Linked DNA regions of Homo sapiens: all the other regions are linked to region 1. The links are contacts of gene promoters, found by promoter capture Hi-C in human tissues and cell types (Jung and others, 2019). All regions are on one chromosome and are shown on one strand. The core of a region is centred on a gene start or on the middle of the fragment in contact, and the rest is flanking DNA. Distances in the headings are between cores, read along the strand shown. Region 1 holds the start of ADAMTSL4-AS1 (ADAMTSL4 antisense RNA 1). Region 2 holds the start of MLLT11 (MLLT11 transcription factor 7 cofactor). Region 3 holds the start of BNIPL (BCL2 interacting protein like).

Region 1 (4,005 bases), core at 771-3,270:
TTACAGGTGTGAGTCACCGTGCCTTTTTTTTTTTTTTTTTTTTGAGACAGCGTCTGGCTCTGTCGCCCAGGCCCCGGAGTGCAATGGCATGATCTCAGCTCACTGCAACCTCCGCCTCCCGGGTTCGAGCGATTCTCCTGCCTCAGCCTCCCAAAGTGCTGGGATTACAGGCCTGAGCCACAGCGCCCGACCCGGAGAGCTGTTTCTTAATCTGCCTGGAGGAAAATCCCCAGCCCCCAACTTTCCACATACTTCACATAGATAACACTGTAACAACTTTGAAACTAAGAGGGAGAGAATTAAGTTTTCAAATTTGAAATTGAGAAGCCTTTGAAGAGTGGCAGCGTTCTAGAAAGTTCCATGATTGAACAAGTGAAGCAAAAAACTAGGATAGACTCAACTGACCATCTGAACTCCAGGAATTAATAGCCAGTGCTTTGGGCATCTGGCTGGAGCCATGGTACGCACCAGTTGTACAAGTTATTTCATTTTAATTTTGTAAAAAAAAAAAAAAAAATCCTTCGGCTGTCACAACTGTTTTAAATAAAAATTTTGTGAAAAAACAGTATGAAGACGTTGCTCTAGATACAGAACAGGAACTGAGAAAGTCTGGTTGTGTCAAATAAAGCAAAGTGTTGATAATTCTGACTACTGATTAAGGTTACCCAGTTACTATTAAATCCAAGCTTTTAAGGTGCTGAGCAAAGGAACACTGTACCAGAAACGGCTTCACATCATAGCACGTCAATGGGAGCAATAGCACTAACTTAACTCAGGCCAAGACTTGGGCTTGGGTCCTCTGTGGCTGCTACTCTCCTACCACACCTTTGCTTGGGAGTGCACTTACACAGCTTTCTTTGTAATGATACAAAAAGTTGCTGCCTTTTGGTAGTTAGGCTCCAGAAAGGGGCTTCCAAACCAAAATGCACTTTTAAATAGAAATGCAACTGACTGCAGGGAGGCACAGAATCCTGATTGCCTGATTAGCATATGGTGCTCAGGGCTTAAAACCAAGTATGCAAACCTCACATTTGCACATTTCCATGGTGATTCAGCTCACTTTCAAGGTAGCTGAAAATAAAAGCAGGATAGGGGTTTTTGAAATTGACTGGCTTCTTTTTACCTCCTTTTGGAAAGCAGAAGGGGAAAAGCACTGCTGCCAAGAACTTCATCAAAACTCTTTAACTTTAGGTATTATTTAGGTGTTATGATAGAGTAACTGCTGTACAGTACCCTCTTACCTCAAGATCAAGGCTGGGCGCAGTGGCTCAGGTCTGTAATCGCAGCACTTCGGCTGAGGCGAGTGGATCACTGAGGTCAGGACTTCAAGACCAGCCTGACCAACACGGCAAAACCCCGTCTCTACCAAAAATAGAAAAATTAGCCGGGCATGGTGGCGGGCACCTGTAATCCCAGCTACTCGGGAGGCTGAGGTTGCAGTGAGCCGAGATTGCCCCACTGCACTCTAGCCTGGGCAAAAGAGTGAGACTGTGCCTCAAAACAAAACAAAACAAAACATACCAACACCTGGTGATTCAAAAAAATCAAGACAGAGGCTGGGTGCGATGGCTCACGCCTGTAATCCTGGCACTCTGGGAGGCAGAGGTGGGCAGATCACCTGAGGTCGGGAGTTCAAGACCAGCCTGACCAACACGGAGAAACCCCATCTCTACTAAAAATACAAAATTATCTGGGTGTGGTGGCGCATGCCTGTATTCCCAGCTACTCAGGAGGCTGAGGCAGGAGAATCATTTGAACCTGGGAGGCGGAGGTTGCGGTGAGCGGAGATCGTGCCATTGCACTCCAGCCTGGACAACAAGAGCAAAACTCCATCTCAAAAAAAAAATAATAAATAAATAAATCAAGACAGAAATTTTGATTTTAAAGAGGTTTTTGATTTTACTTGGAGGTTTAAGAACTCCTCTAAGTACAGCAGTAATATATTTAATTAAAAACCCAACACCTCTAATTAGAATTGAAGAAAGGAACTGTCCTTTGCTCTAAGGCAAATCAACTTTGTGAGGCTTTTGCTTTGAATTCACCTGTACATATTTGCTCAGCTGACTTCTCTAAAAGGTTTGCCTAAGAGAGGGAAGGAAAAAGAGGCGTCGATGAGAAAAGACCCATATCACACCCTGTATTTGAATAAAAGATTTATTTTTTTTTCTCAGGAAAAACAGAAAGTTAGGGAAACACACTACATTTGACAACCAACATTAATTTGTAGTTGGTCCTAACCCTTCCTGGCACAGCTATCAAAAGTACAGCTGTTTAACCAGAACCAAGGTGTTCACCCCCCACAGAATGTACATGAAACACTAGAGGACTGCATGTTTTTCCCTGAGAGAAGCGTAAGACAAACAGAAGTCAAAAAGTAGTCACTGGGAGCGCCATCCTTCTAAGCAAATCCTCCCTTTCCCTTTTGGAGGATTTGCCCGAACTACGTAGCCAGTCAGCACTTAGACCACCTGCCTCCTCCTCCCCCTATAAACCCACCACTCCCCTCCTCCTTTCCCAAACCACTTGGGGTGTCCTAAGCCCTCACTGCCCCAAGCCCAAAATATCAACTAAGATCCTTGTCTGTATTTCCACAGTCATACCTAATGAATTGGGAAGTGGGGCCCCTAAAAACCAATTCACATCTATGCACTTGTTTCCACTGGATTTGGCAGACAGGCTTTTTTAGTTACCGTAACCAGATCTTAAGATTAATTAAAAACTACATAAAGTGCTTTTAGGTCCTTAGAGATACATGATATAAATAAGCGGCTTATGATCAAGAACGATAAATACATAGGTAAAAATAGCTCTAGCAAAGATGACCTTATGGCTCTGAGATGGGCAGGCAGGGCAGTTCTTCCCCATTACATTCTTAGTCATCTTATTCATACCTATTTTTAAATGGAGTCCACAGACTAAAGGTCATGTTCCGAGACTGAAGCTTTCAAATGACCCTAGTTCCAATATAGACACTTTCTTCAGTTTATCAGTAGCTTTTAAACTCTGAGGTTTAACACAGCTCACCTCTTTCTGTAAATTTAAGTGAGCATACTCCTATACAAAGGAAACTTTAGAGAAAGCCTCATAAAATGTTCTTTCCTCTGAAAATTCCTGAGGGGACTTTTGACACATTGCCCCCAAAGACAGGATAAAACAATAGTTGAAAAGATACCAGTCCAAGGAAAAGGGACTTCCTCCCACCTCTCAATGACTGTTAGTGTCACAGCACCCATGGTATTACCACCTGCTAACAGGATCAAGTTCGTGAAAGATGAAAGGTCTGTGGACTCTTGGTGGGGAGGGAGGGTCACTCAGGTTTCCAGCAGGGGTTTCACAGTGCCAAAATCTAAAAGGGCTAGAAAGAGTTCAGGGATGGCAGGGGAAAGCTGTAGGAATTGATATAAATATCTGTAGAGGGAGCAGAACAATCAGCAATTTCAAGGAAGGACAGGAAATAAAAGGTTAAGTCTGATAGAACAAACATCAAGACTGAAATCCAAAGATGCCAATGCAAAAACTTGCAACAAGGTTTGGGAATCATTAATAGAAACAAAACAGTAAGTATTTGCTTTATTGACATACTAGGCTTAGACCTGTGTGTGTAACAAGCAAGCCTAATAATAGCACCATGGTTAGACTAGCCTGCTTTTCCAAGCCATCATTTTATAATTTATTAAGCAAACAAGGGATCAAATGTCTCTCCATCCACCTGATGTGATCTTTTTATATGCACACAGCTAATGAGTTCCATTCAGCTGAAAATCTTTTAGTAAAAGCTTTAAAGATGAGCCCATGAATTCACTTTAAATTTCACCAGTTAAATTAGGTCAAATGGAAGGAACTCAAATGAGTATTGCCCAATCAGAGCCCATTATTTGTAAGTCATCAGTAACCTTAAAACTCCACTTAGACCTAATTATTGAAAACTTGCATATAATGAAGTGAAAGAATTTCCATTCATCAACCTCTCAATCCCAGGTTTTCAAAGAAAAACCTAAGGAATAC
Region 2 (4,005 bases), core at 837-3,336, 490 kb after region 1:
TGAGGGTGGGGTCAGAGTGTGAAGAAGACAGGTCAGGGTGAATGTGATGGTAGCGCAGGGCAGTGGGGGATGGGAACAAAGCCAGAAAAGGAAGTAAGAGCCACTGGCGGCCACTCTTCTTTAAAGCAGCCAGAAGAGAGTGGGTTGAGGAAAAATGAAGTCCTGAGCTGGTCAGCCCAGGCGGAAGAGCCACCCGAATCCAACCCCACAGTGAATAGGGAAGGGGCTGAGAAAACAACAGGAGGGATGAGGATTAGACCTCATAAGGCCACGTCCTGAGAGCCAAGTGGTGCTCAGAACTCGACCTCTCTGAGTTCCAAATGGCAAGAGTGAAATATGGAACCGGGAAAGCCACCCCCCGCCCCCACCAAGATCATACTAGGACTTGAGGGTCTCAGAGCTGTTGGGAGGTGAGCAGAAGGGATGGGAAAGAGGTGCCAGGGAGGAAGGATGTACAGGCTAGTTCTCTGGTCCTGTTCGGGCCCCAAACCGGTTCTCCCGGTCCCACCGCCTCTGGCCCTAAGGCCTCCAACCCGCGGCCTGACAAGCCCTCACATGAAGCAGCTGGAGAGAAAGAAAGAATCGAGAGAATGGCATGGGCAATTCTGGCTAGAAGCCCGGGGCAGCAGCTGGTCCCTGTGTGGAGACCCCGAGACATGGAGGGCTGCTGAGGGACTCTGGAGAAGCGGTGTGGACTCCATATTTCAGCCAAGTGACAGGCCCAACACCAACCTTCCCTTCCCCAGGAAAGGTCTTCTGGGGGCTTAAGAGGAAAGAGGGCTAGGCCCTAAGCCTCCCCTCCCCAAATATATTCAATCACACAGATTCCGTATCTGTCTCCCCCCACTACACAACTCTACCTAGAAGTTCTCTGCTGTTCTCAACCCTTAACCGGACTGGGACCTCTCTGGGAATCTTTCGGACCCTCTCCCTCCCACCTCCCCCAACATTCCAGTTCCTTCTTTTCCTTCTACTCTTCAGCGGCCTCAGCCTGCGCACCCCAGGAGCGTGGATGACTACGGCCACCCCGGGCGCGCACCCCTTTCCCACCACCCCAGCATCTCTGCAGCCCAGGACACCCGCCTCCCCCACACCCCGCATCCGGTGTGTCTCCGCCTGGCCCGGCCGGCGCGGCAGGCGGGCCAGGGGACCAACTGCACGGCCTCACCTGCTCTTCTCCACCATCCAGACGTTCAGCTACAGCTGGTGGGGGTGAGGGACTCTGCTCCGTGGCCGCCAGTGTGGGCTTCCCGGGCTAGCTCTGCGGCGAGGTGGGGGAGCCGAGTACGAGCCGGCAGAGGTGGGGCCGGCTGAGGGCGGAAGCGGCGGCGACGCGATTACGAAACCCGTCCGGCTCGGAGCCCGGCGCACTGCTCCCCTCTGGACTGCGGAGGCACTGCACTGCGCGGGACGTGGGAGGGTGCCTCTGCAGCCCCTCAAGGCCGCCGCCCCTGCGGGGAGAACTGGAGAATGCGGACACCTAGATGAGGCCCTGGCACCCAAGCTGGGGCCCCCGGAATCTCACGTTCCCTTTACTCGCCAGGCATTTCGGGGCAAAACGAAGCGGAGCCCCCCAAACCCCCAGACCTAACCAAGTTCAGAGATTCGCAGAAGCACGCCCCCCACCCCAAATTTATTGTGCTCTACCCAAAATGGAATAGGACTAGGTTTATTTACCCATTGTGAGGGTAGAGAGGCGAGTCTGGAGGAGCAGGGATTGGGAGAAGGGGTGGAAAAATACTCTGATTCTTAAAAATACTTTGTAACCTAAAGTCCTTAAATTGTGGAAGAAAGGAATACTCCTCCTTTCCATTGTAGTCTAGAGTTAAGATTTCAAATCCATAAATTAGAGGACCTAAAATTAGAGGGCAATTAACTGCTCATTCATTGGGCCCCCAGTCAGCACGGGGGTGCTGGAAGAGATCGGGAATAATAGCGCAGACCAATGAGCCTAGGGAGATGCTTTCATCGTCTCTCCTTCCCTCAAGTGTTCTGGAACCTATCATTTGAATTAGCCGAGTCAGGCAGGAGGGGGCGGGGAATCCTTCCGCCCTTCTTAGGAGGGGCTGCATTGCAGGGGGAGAGTGAACTGACAGACTCAGTCACTGAAGAGGGAAAAGGAGTGAGAAGACAAAGCCGTCAAAGCCCCAACAGCTTTGTATTTCTCCAGCCCGGCGCAGACCCCGGAGCTCCCGAGGCACTCCCTCCATCTTTGGAACACGCCAGTAATTGATTGATAACAGGTAAACCAAACTGAGGGAGGGGGCAGGGGGCTGCAAAGATAGAAGAGCGGCTGCTTATGGTTAGATTGAAAGACCCCACATGAGGTGGGGGACAGCTGAAGAGGAGAGAAGGGGGCGCTATGAACAATGGGTAGTTATTTCTTCACAGCATCCATGCCTTGTTACCTTATACAGACCATTAATCTCTAACAATTTACTTGTAGTTATTTCTCAGCACCTACCTCATTTCAAGTATCCTTTTCTGTAATTTATTGTCCTGTGTATTTAATATCTTCAGTCTACTTATCTTCCTTTTCAAACCATAATTTGTTTTACCAGCTGTTTAATTTTTAGTCCTACTGTATCTCTCTGTCCTCTACTTCCCTATACTTGCAATTTTTTTCTGTAGTGTTCTATGTTTCTCTGTAGGAGGGAGTTTGGGAGGGGGTTATATGGGATAATGTTGGGTGTAATCCTGACCTTTCTTTGGATAATCTCTTTCATTCCACCTCGAATCTTTGCTCCAAAGAAAGAGGCAGCCTAGGGTAGGAAAGGTGGGGGCCTCTGTGTTGGAGAACTGCCTGATTCCATAGTGAAATCAGTATAGCCCACAGGAGCTAGGTATGGGGACAGATTCTGGAAAAGAATGATTTGCAGCTCAGTGGAATTGGTGGAGGAATGCTAGTAGGAAAATCCAAGCTCTGACTGAGGCACACATTATGAGATGTCAGAGAGGTTCTGCTCCCCTCTACCACCACCACCACCTTGTCCTTCCCCCTTCCCCATGGTGGCAGCATGACACAGCAAGGCCCTGTTGAGTAGGCCTTGGATGCCCACAAAGGGTCTGGACAAAGGATATTTGGGCGTGTCTGTGTGGCTCCGAGAGTGTATCTTTCTAATCTATACATTTGCTAATCATGTATCTCTAAGAACAGAGTGATAATTAGATATTGCCTTTGCCTAAAATACCCGGATAATTTAAAGTGAAGGATAGTGGGAAGCATTTATTGAACATATATTGTGGTACAAGGCACTGTCAAAACCCTTTAAGTAAATGATACCATTTAAGATAATGAAAGATGTAAAGATAGATGAAGTAGGGCTGGAGAGCATTTGTGGAGGGGAAGGGGAAGCTAGCCAAAAAAGGATCTTTTGCGAAATTTGGAGTATTTGATAATTAAATCCATACTATATTAAATCAAAAATGTCATTACTACTTACATTAGTGAATAGCATTTTAACTTCAATTTTCTGTGTAGTATTACTTTATGTTCTTGACTTGATTTTAATGCCACGTATGTTTGCATGCATGTCTTTCTTGAATGTATTTGGTACCCTGTGTACATGTCTCTGGGTCAATGACATAGAGATTTTAGGCCTTTTGAGTTAATATTTCATAAAATTTGCTTTAGCTTTTTAAATTGCAAGATAGCTCTACCAAACACTCAGGGACTGTTTGAGCAGTTTTTTATACATACTCTGGTTGTAAGAAAAGGAGTCAGTTTGTCGAAGAGCTTTTTTTTTTTTCTCAGATTCTAGCTTGCTCTACTGCCCTTTGCTTTTCCCCATTCAGATCACAATTACAGGAACAATCACCTAAACCACGGAAAATCTATTCTTCAGCAACTAAAAATTCTTTTAAGTTTTGGGAATACTGGTATAGGGTTATATAAAGCTGTTGGCAACTATCCATGTACAACACAAAAAGGGATCAGATTGGGAATTATGAGATCTGGATTCTATACAAACTGGCTGGAAGTCTTCCCAAGTCATTAATTTCTAA
Region 3 (4,005 bases), core at 1,010-3,509, 460 kb after region 1:
ATTGCTCCAGGATCTGGTATACTGTTCTCATAAAACTGAGAGGAGAAAAAAAGTGAAAGAAAGCAGCTGCTTTAAGAATGGTTTTCCACCTTTTCCCCCTAATCTCTACCAATCAGACACATTTTATTATTTAAATCTGCACCTCTCTCTATTTTATTTGCCAGGGGCACGATGTGACATATCTGCAGTCCCAGCACAGTGGGACAAAAAGAATTTAGACCCCAAAAGTGTCCTCGGCATGGATCTTGAACAGAACCAGTATCTGTCATGGAACTGAACATTCATCGATGGTCTCCATGTATTCATTTATTCACTTGTTCATTCAAGTATTTATTGAATACCTGCCTCAAGCTAGAGAGAAAAGAGAGTGCGCTTTGGAAATTTATTCCAGTTTTCAGCCTACAGCAGATTATCAGCTCGGTGACTTTTCTTTCTGCCACCATTTAGGTGATGGTGTTTGATTCAGAGATGGCTGAATTTCTATTCTTAGCTTATTGTGACTGTTTCAGATCTAGTTTGGGAACAGATTAGAGGCCATTGTCTTCTGTCCTGATCAGGTGGCCTGGCTGTTTCTTTGGATCCCTCTGTCCCAGAGCCACCCAGAACCCTGACTCTTGAGAATCAAGAAAACACCCAGAAAGGCCTTAATGACCTCATAGGCACTCTTCCAAAAAGACAACAGAACTGGAATGAGAGGCCTGGGTCTGTCTCCTGCCTTAGCAGGCCTATCAATTTCTTGTCAATCTCTTTTTTTCCTTGCTCACATTAAAAGGAAGCATGGAGTTCTAATGCTCCCATAAACTATGTATTTTGGCAAGACACTTCACTACTCCAGGTCTCACTTTCCCCATCTGTAAAACAGGGTTTGGACTAGGTGTTCCCTGGTATTCTGTGATCTGCCTCTTGCTGCCATTCTTTCTCTCCTCTGCTTCTCTGTATTTTTCTTCTGTTATCCCTGGGGGTGCTCAGGTTCACTTGATTGTCTGTATTTCTGTGTGGTTGTAGCAAGGACTCAGCCTCATGTAGCACGAATAGGGGTGTGGTTCATGGCGTGTTGACCCAGCAGAGCACTCCCTCCCACTAACTTGTTCTGCATGTGTAGAGTCTCCCCATTTTTTTTAACGCAACCCTTTCCCCTTTTTCCTACCCCACAGCTCTGTTCCATGTAAGTTGCCAACAGTTTCACTGAACAGTGGGGTATGTGATGGTTTTGGCATGACATCTTCAGTATGAGGGGGACAGTTTGACTTCACTTTGAGGGTGTGATGTCTGTAGCTATGTGGAAGGTAAAAATAGTGGTGTGATCATGAACCAAAGGAATTTATGTTTTGTAACTTGGGTACTTTATTTTGCATTTTGTTATACTATTAAATAATTTTTTCCTGTTTGGGGGTCTTACTGTCTTTTTTTACAAGTGTATTCAGGCCTTTCTCTGTGATAGTTGTTTCAGTCTCCTCAAAATTGATCCCCCTTCTTCCTACTATACTTAATGTCTTCTTTCTGTTGACTCTTTTTGGGAATAAGGAGCAACAGGCTTCTGTCTCCCCTCATCCTCAGCCTCCCGTTCAACTTGTTTATTCTCCCAGAAACCTCCTTATAACATACTTCCGTTTCCCCAGTTTTCCTTATGCTTGAAAAGTAGATCCAAGATAACAGTCCTAGAAACACACACAATGGTTTCTTTTTCTTTTTTTTTTTTTTTTTGAGATGGAGTTTTGCTCTTTTTGCCCTGGCTGGAGTGCAATGGCACAATCTCAGCCCACTACAACCTCTGCCTCCCAGGTTCAAGCGATTCTCCTGCCTCAGCCTCCCAAGTAGCTGGGATTATAGGCATGTGTCACCACGCCCAGATAATTTTTTTTTTTTTTTTTTTTTTTTTTTTTTTTTGGATTTTTAGTAGAGATGGGGTTTCTCCACATTGGTCAGGCTGGTCTCAAACTCCCGACCTCAGGTGATCCGCCTGCCTTGGCCTCCCAAAGTGTTGGGATTACAGGTGTGAGCCACCACGCCCGGCCAGAAACACAACGGTTTCTACTGGTTTTTTTGCTTATTTGTGTAAAGAGCAACTTTGAGAGGGATATATGGAGTCTGGAAAGGAGAACAAATTGCCTTCCTAGACTCAACCGAGACTGGCCCCCACTAGAAAATGCACTCTCCTCCCCAAAACCCGCCCCCTCACAGGAGGCAGGGTTTTTCTTTTGGGCAAACCTGCTCCTGGGGAGAGGAGTGGCAAAACCTGTTTTGAAGATGAGGTTACCTCCCTTCCACACCTCCCTCCTTGGAGGCAAGAGCTACAACAGCTGAGACAGAAAAGAGGTAAGGAAGTGTTGGGGGCTGGGACAACCAGCTCCCCAACAACTCCTAGGTGTTTAAAGAAGGAGGCAGGAAGACTTGTGAAGATGGGAACTATACAAGAGGCAGGAAAAAAGACAGATGTTGGGTAAGTAAGATCTTGGCTCACTTGATTGGTAACAGTGAATAAACAGTCCGGAGAGACTTCCCCACCACCCAGCTCTTACTGGGTCAAATCTCGGGTTCCTCAAGGAGACAAGACTGTAAGAGAGTTTGCAGAGAAGAGATGAGGGTGGTTTTAGGTAGGAAATGTCAGTATGGTATGGAACTGGGGAACAGGATTCCAGGATAATTCCCTGGTTTAAAAATAAAGGAAGTTTCTGTAATATGTTGTACCTGATAAATCTGCCTGTGTTCTTTTATTTTCTAACCCTCACCCTCCAGAATGGCCATCAGGAAAGCTGAACCAGAACCGAGTTTAGGTCCAGGTTCTCGTTCTGGCAAATCTTTCTCCTTACCTTCTTCCTCCACCCCTCCACTTATGCCATGTTTTCCCTTAGCCACTCCCCAGCTCGGTGGAGGAAAGGCAGGCCTAACTAGGTACCGTCTTCCCGACTTTGCTCAATGATAGCTGGGTGGGTCTAGCTGGGTTCCAGCCACTTGTAATGTGGGACATCTCTCACCCCAACTTTGTAGGTGGAGCAACTGCTACAGAGGTAAATATGATTAACTTTACATTCCATCTTTCGTCTGCTCCCAAACTTAACAGCAGGTAATCTGCTTCTAGCAAGTGGTGAAGGTAAGAGAAGCATCTGTATAGGAGGCAAGAGATCTGAGTCCTTTTGAAGGCCTATCCTCTGCTCTGTATCTCAATTACTGTTCTTCATTTCAATTATTCTTACCTACTATTCAGTTCCCTTGATCTTTTCTTCTTGGGGGCTGTCTTAGGGTCAGGGAGATTGCAGAAGCACCAGAACTAGGAGCAGCCCTGAGACATGGGGAGTTGGAGCTGAAGGAGGAATGGCAGGATGAAGAATTCCCTAGGTGAGGACGTGTGAGGGTGGCTGGGAGAAGGGAGGGGTGGTCACGAATGGACGGAGGGGATGGCGCGGCGGCTCATGGCTGTAATCCCAGCACTTTGGGTGGCCGAGGCGGGTGGATCACCTGAGGTCAGGAGTTTGAGACCAGCCTGACCAACACGGTGAAATCCCGTCTCTACTAAAAATACAAAATTAGCCAGGTGTGGTGGCACATGCCTGTAATCCCAGCTACTCGGGAGGCTGAGGCAGGAGAATCACTTGAACCTGGGAGGCAGAGGTTGTAGTGAGCTGAGATTGTGCCATTACACCCGAGCTTGGGCAACAAGAGTGAAACTCTGTCTCAAAAAAAAAAAAAAAAAAAAAAAAAAAAAGCAAATGGACACAGGGATGGTGAATTAGGACTTGAAGGAAAAAAATGGGAAAAAGAAAACAGAGGCCGGGCGTGGTGGCTGATGCCTGTAATCCCAGCACTTTGGGAGGCCGAGGCAGGTGGATCACTTGAGCTCAGAAGTTCAAGACTACTCTGGGCAACATGGCATAACCCCATCTCTACAAAAATACAAAATTTAGCCAAGTGTGGTGGTGCACACCTGTAGGCCCAGCTACTCGGGAGGCTGAGGTGGGAGGACCGCTTGAACCCTGGAGGTAGAGGCTGCAGTGAGCTGTGATTGTG

The links. The method cuts DNA at HindIII sites, captures the fragments that hold promoters and counts their contacts. A contact is called where the count stands out against the background at its distance.
Region 2: a contact is called between the fragment with the promoter of MLLT11 here and a fragment that was not itself captured in region 1, in 1 of the 25 tissues and cell types used here (dorsolateral prefrontal cortex).
Region 3: a contact is called between the fragment with the promoter of BNIPL here and a fragment that was not itself captured in region 1, in 2 of the 25 tissues and cell types used here (dorsolateral prefrontal cortex and hippocampus).

Annotation. Positions count from the first base shown.
Region 1 is chr1:150,572,418-150,576,422 of GRCh38, forward strand. It overlaps MCL1 (MCL1 apoptosis regulator, BCL2 family member), which reads right to left. Exons shown (of 3, transcript NM_021960.5): 3 at 2,141-4,005. It overlaps ADAMTSL4-AS1 (ADAMTSL4 antisense RNA 1), which reads right to left and starts at 2,135. Exons shown (of 4, transcript NR_104133.1): 1 at 1,707-2,135; 2 at 1,242-1,404. The HindIII fragment of the contact is 4,214 bases long and covers 1-4,005 here.
Region 2 is chr1:151,058,311-151,062,315 of GRCh38, forward strand. MLLT11 (MLLT11 transcription factor 7 cofactor) reads left to right here and starts at 2,087. Exons shown (of 2, transcript NM_006818.4): 1 at 2,087-2,243. It overlaps CDC42SE1 (CDC42 small effector 1), which reads right to left and starts at 1,312. Exons shown (of 5, transcript NM_020239.4): 1 at 1,169-1,312. RefSeq lists an enhancer at 1,633-2,224. The HindIII fragment of the contact is 8,370 bases long and covers 1-3,659 here.
Region 3 is chr1:151,034,327-151,038,331 of GRCh38, forward strand. BNIPL (BCL2 interacting protein like) reads left to right here and starts at 2,260. Exons shown (of 10, transcript NM_138278.4): 1 at 2,260-2,440; 2 at 3,241-3,336. The coding sequence starts at 2,400. PRUNE1 (prune exopolyphosphatase 1) reads left to right here. Exons shown (of 8, transcript NM_021222.3): 8 at 1-1,387. The HindIII fragment of the contact is 8,096 bases long and covers 1-3,135 here.